Linked DNA regions of Homo sapiens: regions 1, 3 and 4 are each linked to region 2. Evidence: promoter capture Hi-C in human tissues and cell types (Jung and others, 2019). All regions are on one chromosome and are shown on one strand. The core of a region is centred on a gene start or on the middle of the fragment in contact, and the rest is flanking DNA. Distances in the headings are between cores, read along the strand shown.

Region 1 (2,859 bases), core at 271-2,770, 65 kb before region 2:
GAAAGGGGAGGTCTGCAAAGCAAGGCCTCAGAATTTGGATTTAATGTCCCAAGCACGGAGGCCACTGTTTTGACCGAGATGCTCCTGGAAGCCAAGGCACCATGAGAAGCCCGGTAAGGCTGAGGCACTTCTTTTTTCACAGGTGAGGACACGAGGTGGCTCAACTTAGAAATCAATCAGAACTAAAGGAAACCACGGTGCAGATGGACAAGCCGATGGTCACACTATGTATGCATTCAAGAGATACTTTGTGCTACGTCAGGCTGCTTTTTCACCATCACCACCAAACAAAGTGGGTTTTTTTTTAAAGGCGAGGGTTGGGGGGGTGGGTGGGGAGATTACACCCTTCAAGATCAGGAAGTGTCTTATCTTTCTGTGCTATCCTTCACAGAGTACTTGGCACAGAGGCAGATAGGTGCAGGATAGATACTCTTAGAGATTTGCTGATGTGAGATTTGAGAATGGACCTGCTTTTTTTTTTTTTTTTTTTGAGATGGAGTCTTGCTCTGTCTTCCAGGCTGCAGTGCAGTGGCCTGATCTCGGCTCACTGCAACTTCTGCCTCCTGGATTCAAGCGATTCCCTTGCCTCCGCCTCCGAAGTAGCTGGGATTACAGGCAGGCACCACTATGCCCAGCTAATTTTTTTGTGTTTTTAGTAGAGATGGGGTTTCACCATGTTGGCCAGGCTGGTCTCGAACTCCTGACCTTAGGCAATCCGCCCACCTCAGCCTCCCAAAGTGCTGGGATTACGGGTGTGAGCCACCACACCCGGCCTGGACCTGCTTTAATACCCCTCAATTCTGCATATTCTTTTTCTGGAAACATGGACTTCCTAATCTCTTCTGATGGGCTCTTTGACTAATTCCACCTAAAGGAAGAATGATATGCTTATGTTCCAGTGTTCTATCAGATTTATTAAATGATTAATCAATTCTTTATCTGTTAAATAATTAGTGTTGCCCAGATCAACAGAAGGCTGTTGGCTAAACCAATAGCCCTTGGTTAGCACCATTTATTTGACACATATCACAGAGCCCTTTCTGAGGCTGCAGCATTTTCTAATGTCCATGTCACCATAATTCGATTATAAGCATTTTCTAGACTGCCCATAGCCAAACCCTTGCATAGAAGTATCCATCTATCCATCCATTTATTTGAGAATAAAATAAAAGAATGGGCAACACTTATTGAGGGACCAAACGAGCAGGAGCCAAGTTGTTCCTTGCTCTGACCAACTAACTGTATTTAACACTACCAAGCACTAGTAGTGACAGTGATACATGAAAAGCTTTCCAAAATTTAAGTATAACTCATTGTTTTCCTGAATCAAGGCTTAATCTAACCTTGGTCATAACCACAGATGTGATAAAAATGTTTTTCTTTATAACTCTCCTAAATGTTCATCTTAGAGTTATACTTCTTCTACCTAAGACTCTAGGCCCTTAAGCCCTCTTGGCATCACAGCACCTGCAGCTGCCGAACTACTCCCTGTTAGACCTATCTGCCTAGTTAGTCAGTTTAGAGAACTCCAAAACAAAACAAAACAAAAAGATAAAAGCTAAGCTGCCATTGATGGGGTAGATGTAGGATGCCTGGAACCCCACTTTGACCTCCCTTTTCCCCTCCACCTTCAGGATTCTAGGGAGAGGCTTAAAGCCCCCATTTCTAGAGAGAAAAAAGATCCAAGAAAACAACAGCTAGTTAGTTAGTAGCAGATCCAAGACATATTTTTTTTTTTTTTTTTCTGAGACAGGGTCTCACTTTGTCACCCAGGCTGGAGTACGGTGGCGTGATTTCAGCTCACTGCAGCCTCAACCTCTCAGGCTCAAGCGATCCTCCCACCTCAGCTCCCTAAGTACCTGGGACTACAGGCACCCACCACCATGCCTGGCTAATTTTTTGTATTTCGGTAGAGATGGAGTTTTGCCATGTTGCCCAGGCTGGTCTCTAACTCCTGGGTTCAAGTGATCTGCCTGCCTTAGCCTTCCAAAGTGCTGGGATTAGAGACATGAGACACTGCACGGAGCCCCAAAACCATTTTAATGCTATACAGGCCACTAGCTTCATTTTGCAAGACTAAAATGGCTGTTCAAACTGTAACTACAAATACATTTGTCACTATTTATCTCTATACATATGCCTTTGTGGGTTGCCTAGATTTCAACAAGGGTGCCTGAATGGCCAATCCTCAGATAAATTATATTTTGAGAAATGGCACATTCAAAAAGCAAGAGGAGCCTCCGGGCCTAAATTAGAGACTCAATACTTTTAACTGAAAAAGTGTCTTTATGTTTTATTTTATTTTAATTTTTGAGACATGGTCTCTCTCTGTCACCCAGGCTGGAGTGCACTGGTTCACTGCAGCCTCGAACTCCTGGGCTCAACCGATCCTCCCACCTCAGCCTTTTAAGTAACTGAAAAAGTGCTTTGATTTAGTTTATCTAATTAATTAGTTTATTTTTCTTTTAGATGAAGTCTCGCTCTGTCACCCAGGCTGGAGTGGAGTGGCGCGATCTTGGCTCAGTGCAACCTCCACCTCCCTGGTTCAAACAATTCTTGTGCCTCAGCCTCCCGAGTAGCTTGTATTACAGGTGTGTACCACCATGTCTGGCTAATTTTTGTATTTTTAGTAGAGACAGGGTTTCACCATGTTGGCCAGGCTGGTCTCGAAGTCCTAACTTCAAGTGATGCACCTGCCCCAAGTGCTGGGACTACAGGTGTGAGCCACTGCACCTGGCCTGAGAAAATGCTTTTAAATGATCTCTTCCTTTCCCAAACCCAAGACCATGAGTAACTTTAAAAATAATGCTCCATGGGTGAGTATTCTGATAGGAACATAATGAGTATAATAATGAGAGT
Region 2 (2,837 bases), core at 271-2,770:
GCCCAGCAGCCGAGACCCAGCCTCGCGGCGGCCTCCAGCTTAATCCGCTGTTGGGGCTGGAAAGGGGCGTGTCTTTGTAGGGACAGAAGGGGTCCGAGGAGTTCCCGGCACTTTCCCACCCGCTGTTTGGTTTTCCTGGAGATGGGCCTGGGGCTGGCCAGGCGGAGGCTCCTTCCCCCCGCCTCCCTCCCACGTGGCCTGGCTGAGTCTCTCTGGAAAGCCGCAGCAGCTGGAGAGAAATCCCCCTCCCCACCCCCACCTCCAAGTCCCTCCCCGACTCTCCCCGGACACATCCTCAGCTCCCCCCTCCGCGGGGAAGGCAAGAACTAGGCGAACAAAGCGGCCAGCCCATCCCCCTCCCAGCCCTGCCACCTACACTCCCCATGAGCCGCCCCCAAACGCACACCGGACAGGAAGCGACAGAGCTGTGGGTGGAAGCCGCAGCCCTAGACACACACCCTTGGGGACTTCGCTATCCCCTCCCCAGCCCTTTCTCCAGCTTGGACAACTCTGACTTACCCCGTACCCACTCCGCACTGGGCTGCGGACTGGATGAGGCCCTGCTGACCTCGTCCACGCTTCCCTGGTCGGTCCCTGGGGGGTGGGGCCGGGGTGACACGCGTCCCATCGTGAGAACAAGCGCTGGACATGTCCACGAAAGCAAATGGTTTCCTGCCCCCTCCCCCAGTCCACTGCTGGCCACAGGTTTTGGGGAGCAACACCTCCCTCTACCCCTCTCTAACCGGCCCCAGGGACCACACCCACTGGGCAAAGTTGAGTGTTGTTTTATCACCACCACCCCCAGTCAAACGGGATCCATCGCTCTGTCCCCCACTATGGGCAAGGACACTTCCCAAATGCCAAGGCCAAATATTAGCTCAGCCCCATAAACACAATTGCACACGCACCCGACCCAAATGGAGGTGCAGACACAACCCCAGTTCCCTCCTCTTTTACACACACTCTCAACCCAAGACACGCGCAGGCAAGGCAGAGCCCGCCCCGCGAAAGCCACCGACACCGCAGCTACCCGCCCCGCCGATGCCACGCCGCGACCATGGCACGCACTGCGGACACGACAGGAGCACTCCCAACACACACACACACACACACACACACACACACACACACGACTCCAGACTCTGCGAACCAAAGGCACACACCCACTGCGGACAAGCACGCCCCACAAACGCCCCCCGGCCGCAGCTCGCAGACCCCCGCGCAGGCATCGCGGGCACCTGGACGCGCAGCCCCCGCACTTGCTCGGGACTCCGGCTTGAGCCAGCCCCGCAGCCCGATGCAGACCAGGGCGCGGGCGCACCAGCACTCCGCAGTCGCTCCTGCCTCTCCGGGCGCCCGCCCTTACCGCGCGCGGCCAACAGGCAGAAGGTCAACGCGAGGAGCCCGCGGCCGCGGCCGGCGTCCCCCCGCGCCATGGGGCTGGGCTCGGGCCGCCGCCGCCGCCGCCGCCTCCCCGTGCTTCGGCCGCCGCCGCGGGGGGAGAGCGCGCCGGGCGTCAGTGGCCCGGGGAGGCGCGGCGCCGCGGGCGGGGGCGCGGCCTCGGGGGCCCGGGCCCGAGCTGGGGCCGGCGCGGGGGCCAGGGCCGCTGCCGCCTCACCCGCCCCTCCATCGCCATCTTGGGCGAGCGGCCCGGGAGGGGGCGCCCGGCGAGTGTGGCCACCCTGGCCCCGCCGGGGACCCTGCGCCCGCGCGCCACGGCCCTGCGCCTCGCGGGGGCTCCTCTCGGCCCGGGTCTGTGTCCCGGTGCCTCGCCCTCTCCGGGTCGCCGCGGGCCCCCGTGAGGCCGCCTGTTGCTGGGTCTGTCTCTTAGTCTCCCCGTCTCTGAGTCTTCTGGTCTCTCTGCCTCAGCGTCTCTATTTCTTCTCCCTGTTGCTGCCTCGGGGTCTCCACCTCCGTTCCAGGCTCAGGGGAGGCAGATTCAGGGCCACGGTCTTTGTCCAGATGGCCCCCTTGCCACCCGAGCCCAGTCCATTCCAGCCCAGGTCCTGGCCTGAATGCTGGTTCGCTTCTCCACACGTTGCGCCAGCCCACCTGCGGAGATCTTGATAGTCCTATCTGCCATCCCAAACCAAGGGCTTCTCTTGGCCTCCTTCCCTTGCTCTGGCAGTAACTAACACAGGCAGGACACTTTTACACTACCTTCAAGCACTACCATATTCAGATGTCGCCGCATGGGGAAACTGAGGCTGGAGAAGGTGAAGTGACTTGCCCAAGGACAGGAGGCTAGGGAGCAGCAGATACAGGACCTGAACCTTGGTTTTCTGACTTCGGAAGGTCATCTCCACTCCCTCACCCTGCCTCTGCTGTCCAGCATTTACTGAAGTACCCTTTTTCTCATTCTTCAACGGTACTTTCTCTAACCTACCTAGCCAGACTGTTTGCCTCAGTATCCCGCAAATATTTCTTGTTCTACAGCCAAGGGTTCAATTGTCAGGCTAGGGTGGGGAAAAGAGTACAGATTCAATGACCTAGTTAAGGTCCTTTCCAACTCCAAGATGCCATAGTTCTTCCCTTCCCTGTGTCTCTAAGTGTTCCTGTGACTTAGAGCCATCTTGTCTCTACACCTGTCTGTTGTCAGTTAACCCTCAATAATCACTGGCGCTTTGCATATCTAACAGGCCTGGCGTTTATTCATTCATTGCCACGCCCCATCTTCACTTGCCCTATCAGCAGCATTTGACTTAGTGAATCACTCCCTCTTCCTTGAAACACTTGCTTCCCTTAGTGATCTCATCTGGTCCTCAAGGCTTTAAAGAGCATCTTTATGCTAATGATGCCCAAATGTATACTTTCAGCCTAGACCATCTTTCCTGAAC
Region 3 (3,020 bases), core at 88-2,587, 120 kb after region 2:
AATCGGCCGGGCATGGTGGCTCATGTCTGTAATCCCGGCACTTTGGGAGGCCGAGGCAGGTGGATCACCTGAGGTCAGGAGTTCAAGATCAGGCTGACCAACATGGCGAAACCCCGTCTCTACTAAAAAATAAAAAAAATTAGCTGGGCATGGTGGCGGGCGCCTTTAATCCCAGCTACTTGGGAGGCTGAGGCAGGAGAATCGCTTGGATCTGGGAGGCAGAGGTTGCAGTGAGCTGAGATCGCACCACTGCACTCCAGCCTGGGCAATAGAGAGAGACTCTGTCTCAAAAAAAAAAAAAAAAAGAATTATGCTAAATCTACTCTGCCTATGCTCTGTAAGTGGAACAACGACTCCTGGATGATAGCACATTTGTTTACAGAATGGTTTACTGAATATTTTAAGCCCACTGTTGAGGCCAACTTCTCAGAAAAAAAAAAAAAAAAAAAAAAAAATATATATATATATATATATATATATATATATATATATATATGTATATTCCTTTCAAAATATTACTGCTCATTGACAGTGCACCTAGTCCCACCCAAGAGTGCTGATGGAAATGTCAAGGAGATTAATGTTGTTTTCATGCCCGCTAACATAACATTCCTTTTGCAGCCCATGGATCAAGGAATAATTTTGACTTTCAGGTCTTATTTAGAAAATACTTTCCGTAAGGTTAAAACTGTCGTAGGTAGTGATTCTGTGATGGATCTGGGCAAAGTCAATTGAAAACTTTCTGGAAAGGATTCACCATTCTAGATACCATTAAGATCATTTGTGATTCATAGGAAGAGGTCAAAATATAAAAATGAACAGGAGTTTCGAAGAAGTGGAATTCAACCCTCATGGATGATTTTGAGGGGTTCAAGACTTCAGTGGAGGTAGTAACTGCAGGTGTGGTAGAAATAGCAAGAGAACTAGACTTAGAAGTGGAGCCTGAAGGTGTGACTGAATGCAGCAATCTCATGATAAAACTTGAAGGGATGAGGAGTTGCTTCTTATGGATGAGCAAAGAAAGTGATTTATTGAGATGGAATCTATTTCTGATGAAGATGCTCTGAACATTGTTGAAATGACAATGAAGGGTTTATACTGTTTCATAAACTTAGTTAATAAAGCAGTGGCAGGGGTTGAGAGTATACTCTGATTTTAAAAGAAATTATTCTCTGGGTAAAACAGTATCAAACAGCATTGCATGCTGCAAAGAAATCTTTAGTGAAGGAAAGACTCAATCAATGAGACAAACTTCATTGTTGTCCTCCTTTAAGAAATTGCCACAGCCACTCCAGCCTTCAGCAGTCACCACCTGGATCAGTCCACAGCCATCAACATTGAGGCAGGACCCGCCACCAGCAAAAAGATTACAACTCCCTGAAAGCTCACATGATCATTAGCATTTTTTAGCAATGAAATATTTTAAAGTTAAGGTATGTACACTGTTTTTTAGAATAATACTGCATACTTAATAGACTATAGTATAATATAAACATAACATTTATATATACTGGGAAACCAGAAACTTTGTGTGACTCACTTTATTGTGATATTAGCTTTATTGTGGTGGTCTGGAACAGAACCTACAATAGCTCCAAGGTATGCCTGTAAATTAAAATGATAGGATACTGTTTCTCACATTAGAGTAGGAAAATTGAAAAAGCCTGACATGACCAAGTGTTTCTGAGAATGTTCAGTGACAGGACTTTTTTTTTTTTTTTTTTTTTTTTTTTGAGATGGAGTCTCACCGTGTCACCCCAGGCTGGATTGCAATGGCTCAATCTTGGCTCACTGCAATCTCCGCCTCCTGGGCTCAAGTGATTCTCCCGCCTCAGCCTCCCGAGTAGCTGGGACTACGGGCGCCCGCCATCATGCCCTGCTAATTTATGTATTTTTAGTAGAGATGGGGTTTCACCATGTTGGCCATGCTGGTCTCGAACTCCTGACCTCAAGTAATCTGCCTGCCTTGGCCTCCCAAAGCGCTAGGATTACAGACGTGAGCCACCGTGCCCAGCCGGACTTTTTTTATACAGTTGGTGGAAGTACTAATTGGTACAATTGATTTGGAGAACAGTTTTACACTATCTTGTCAAGCTGAAGTTGTATGTCTTTATGAGTTGGAAGTTTTGCTTTTTAGAGAAGCTCTTACACATGCAGGTGGAGGTAGAATGTTCATTGCAGCAAAAAATTGAAAACAGCCTCAATTTTTGTCAGCTGGAAGAATGGATAAATTGTGGTATATTTATACAATGGCACACTGTACAACAGCTACAATGAATGAAACAGAACCATCTTTATAGAATTAAAGCTTAGAAATATAATATCAAATAAAAAGCAAGTTGAAGAATGATATAGGCAGTATGAAATTATTTTTGTGACATGTCAAATCATACTGTATATTGTGAATGCCCAACGTGTTTTAATGAATAAATAAATACAGTGGAAACGACCAACTCCAATCCTGGAGTAGTGGTTACCTGCGAAGTTGGGGCATGTTTGAGGGAGAGGGCATTGGGATTGAGAAATTGTATAATGTATCTGTTTCTGTTTTATTTCTTTTTTTAAAAATTGAGGCAAATAAAGCAAAATGCTAATGGATGTTAGATATAGTGGTGTTTGCTATATTTTTCTGTTTGATTTTGCTTGAAATATTTAATAATAGAAATCAATAAGTCTAAGCTGTTTATTACCACAGTACAAAAACTACTTATAAAGCAGTAAGTTAAATAATCTGGTAACTGTTGACCACTCACAATGGTCCAGGCACAGTGCTAAGTACTAGATATTCAGTAATGAGCAACACATATAAAGGCACTACCTTCAGATTGAGGGAGACAGACAATAGATATGTTAATAAATAATTACCTAGATAAAGTGCTATGAGGGAAATAAAGAGGGTGATGAAATAGAGAATAATTGGTAGAGGCTATTTTAAATAGAGTGGTCAGGGAAGGCTTCCTTGAAGAGGTGATATTCTAGCCGGGTGAAACTTGAAAGTTAAAACAAATGGTGCAGAAAGC
Region 4 (3,084 bases), core at 460-2,959, 100 kb before region 2:
CGACTTTGTTGTTGTTGTTGTTGTTTTGTTGTTGTTTTAAGGTTTGTTTGTTGTTTTTTTGTTTTGTTCTGAGACAGGATCTCCCTCTGTCACCCAGGCTGGAGAGCAGTGGTGCCATCATAGCTCACTATAACCTCAAACTCCTGGGCTTAAGTAATCCTCTAGCTTCAGCCTCCTGAGTAGCTGGGACTACAAGCATGAGCCACCACACCCAGTCTGAGTTAGTTTTTTTTGTATGGTGTAAAGGGTCCAGATTCATTTCTTTGCATGTGAATATCCAGTTGTCCTAGCACCATTTTTTGAAAAGACTATTCTTTCTCTACTGAATTGTCTTGGCACCCTTGTCAAAAACCAATTGACTATAAATGTGAGAGTTTATTTCTGGATTGTTGGTGCTATTTTATTGAGATATATGTTTGCCCAGATGCCAGGAATACACTTTTTAATTATTGTAGCTTTGTAGTAAACCAAGAAAGTATGAGTCCTCCAACTTTGTTCTTTGTTTTCAAGATTGTTTTAGCTATTTGGGATCCCTTGCATTTCCGTATAAATTTTCGAATCAGCTCATCAATTTCTGCAAAGAACCCAGCTGGGTCGACAACCCTTTGAGGTAGGGGCATATTATCTCTATTTTACAGACAAGGAAACAGAGGTGTAAAGAAGTTAAATCGTTTGCTCACGGTTACACAACTAGGAAATAGCAGAGCCAGGGGTTCAAACCACATCAGTTGGACTCTAGTGTCCACAGCCTGGGCCATGGCCACCACCTTCTTAGCTCCAGAGGGTGCCATGCTTCTCACTAGAAGACAGGGAACAGTGACAGCTCGTTGCTCTCAATAGCAGGGCACTGGCTCTGAGCTCTGTACTAGCTCCCAGGTGGCAAAGGGCTGAAGGCATAGCCACCAGCTGAGTTGGAGAAGGTCCCCCATATAAGGTGACACCCCAGCTAGGCATGGAAGGAGACACCTCACTGTTCTCTGATCCTGCTGGGGCTCTGGTTCTCCTCACCCCAGCCTCAGCCCAATAACTGGGGACTTGCTGGCCACGGGAGAGATGACCTCAAGCTTCCAGGCACAAAACTCTCCAATTCTTGACCCAAGACACTACTATAGCAGCCGGGATTGAACCAAAGTATGCTTTCTTGGTAGCTTTGTGACAGTGTCCCCAGTACTCCCAGTTAGACACTCTGATTCCTTCAGTGGTTATGAAGAAAGTGCTGGCAGCACAAGTCCACATAATGGGGAGCCAGCTTTTGAGGCAATGAGACAAAATGCAGCATAGGGCATCCTGGGCCTCGGGGAAGGAAGCCCCTCCAGAGAGCGAGAGAGACATCTGCAGGAAGAGGCACCATGACGAGGAGAAGCTGTGGGGAGCAGAGCCTGGTCAGAGGGTGGCTATTCTGGAGTAATAGCCAGGGCCAACCCTGCCTTGTGGTGGTGGCACGTGGTGCACGGTGACCAAGGGGCCATCCACGTTTGTGGGAACTCAGTGTCCATCCCTCTTGAGTCCAAGGAGCCCTTCCCTTCTCTGCCAGCCAGGCTCCTCCTCGGCCTCCTCTCAGCCCCTTCTTCTCCCTGCTCCCTCTCCGTTCCAAGGTAGCTCCAGGGGGGCTCAGGGGAGCAACAAAGCCCTCAGATCAGTCCCCAAGTCCCCTCGTACCTTTTTTTTTAAGACAGGTTCTCCCTCTGTCACCCAAACTGGAGTGCAATGGCACGATCTTGGCTCACTATAGCCTCAACCTCCCAGGCTCAAGCGATCCTCACACCTCAGCCTCCTGAGTAGCTGGGATTACAGGCATGTGTCACCATGCCTGGCTAATTTTTAAATTTTGTGTGGAGACGATTTTGCCATGTCGTCCAGCTGGTCTCGAATTCCTGGCCTCAAGCTGTCTTCCTGCCTTGGCCTCCCAAAGTGCTGGGATTACACAGTGAGCCACTGTGCCCAGCCCTCTAATACCTCTTTGAGAGAGGACCATGGGTTTAGCTGTTCCCCTCCCTGACTCAAGCCTTAACCCAGAATTTAAGGCAGGCCCCCAGCCTTAGCTGCCCCCACTCACTCATTCCCTGTGTCCAGCCCCAGTGTCCCCATAGGAGTTCGGGGCACCCTCTGTCTCCTGCCGTCCCCAGCTGTGTCCCCACCAGCCTCATGCACAGTCCCAGGGCCATGGGGTAAAGCTTTCCTCCCCTCCCTGCCTCCTGGCTCATATTTGTTCCCCACCTGTCCCTCCGGAGTGGCCCTGTGGTCATTTTATTTATTTATTTATCTATTTATTTGAGATGGAGTCTCACTCTATAGTCCAAGCTGGAGTGCAGTGGCATGATCTCGGCTCACTGCTACTTTCACCTCCTGGGCTCAAGTAATTCTCCCCGGCGGGTGAGCCACTGCACCCGGCCCCTGTGGTCATTTTAAAACAGTCCATACATTCTTTGACTCTCCATTGAAAAGAAGACTTTAATTCCCCTTGAATTCCCTGAATGTGGCTTGCCTTAGCGACTTGTTCTAAAGAGCTGACTATAGCAGAAGTGATGCTGTGTCACTTGGGCCGGCGTAGAAATGATGTTGCAGTTTCCACCTGGCTCTCTCTCTCAGGACGCTTGTCTTTGGAACCCAGCCACTATGCTGTGAGGAAGCCCAGGCCACACGGAGAGGCCATGTGGAGGTGCTGGGCTCACAGCCAGCATCAGCCACCAGACGCGGGAGGGAGGGAGCCTTCAGGGGATCCCAGCCCCCAGGCTTCAAGCTGCCCACGCTGATGCAGAGTGGAGCAGAGACAGCTGCCCCTGAGCCCTGCCCAGACTGCATATTTGTAAGCCAAATAAATGTGATGTGAAACCACCAAGGTTTGACGGCACTCCAGCCTGGGCAACACAGTGAGACCCTGTCTCTTAAAAAAAAAAAAAAAAAAAAAAAAAAAAGGCCGGGCATGGTGGCTCATACCTGTAATCCCAGCACCTTGGGAGGCCGAGGCAGGTGGATCACGAGGTCAGGAGATCGAGACCATCCTGGCTAAAACAGTGAGACCCCGTCTCTACTAAAAATACAAAAAATTATCTGGGCATGGTGGTGCTTATAATCCCAGCTACT

The links. Contacts are between HindIII fragments. The study calls those that stand out against the background at their distance.
Region 1: a fragment that was not itself captured here is called in contact with the fragment with the promoter of IGDCC4 in region 2 in 2 of the 25 tissues and cell types used here (heart left ventricle and neural progenitor cells).
Region 3: a fragment that was not itself captured here is called in contact with the fragment with the promoter of IGDCC4 in region 2 in 3 of the 25 tissues and cell types used here (H1 embryonic stem cells, bladder and thymus).
Region 4: a fragment that was not itself captured here is called in contact with the fragment with the promoter of IGDCC4 in region 2 in 6 of the 25 tissues and cell types used here (H1 embryonic stem cells, bladder, lymphoblastoid cells and 3 more).

What each region holds. Positions count from the first base shown.
Region 1 is chr15:65,356,378-65,359,236 of GRCh38, forward strand. All of the region lies in intron 2 of IGDCC3 (immunoglobulin superfamily DCC subclass member 3), which reads right to left. Among named protein-coding and RNA genes, the nearest start is that of IGDCC3, 20 kb to the right of the region's middle. RefSeq lists an enhancer at 1-158. The HindIII fragment of the contact is 8,320 bases long and covers 1-2,859 here.
Region 2 is chr15:65,421,427-65,424,263 of GRCh38, forward strand. It overlaps IGDCC4 (immunoglobulin superfamily DCC subclass member 4), which reads right to left and starts at 1,521. Exons shown (of 20, transcript NM_020962.3): 1 at 1,367-1,521. The coding sequence starts at 1,436. RefSeq lists enhancers at 424-533, 554-823, 1,799-2,333. The HindIII fragment of the contact is 12,230 bases long and covers 1-2,837 here.
Region 3 is chr15:65,537,505-65,540,524 of GRCh38, forward strand. All of the region lies in intron 1 of HACD3 (3-hydroxyacyl-CoA dehydratase 3), which reads left to right. Among named protein-coding and RNA genes, the nearest start is that of HACD3, 8.6 kb to the left of the region's middle. The HindIII fragment of the contact is 3,444 bases long and covers 1-3,020 here.
Region 4 is chr15:65,320,619-65,323,702 of GRCh38, forward strand. No RefSeq gene overlaps it. Among named protein-coding and RNA genes, the nearest start is that of RNU5B-1, 17 kb to the left of the region's middle. The HindIII fragment of the contact is 4,268 bases long and covers 1-3,084 here.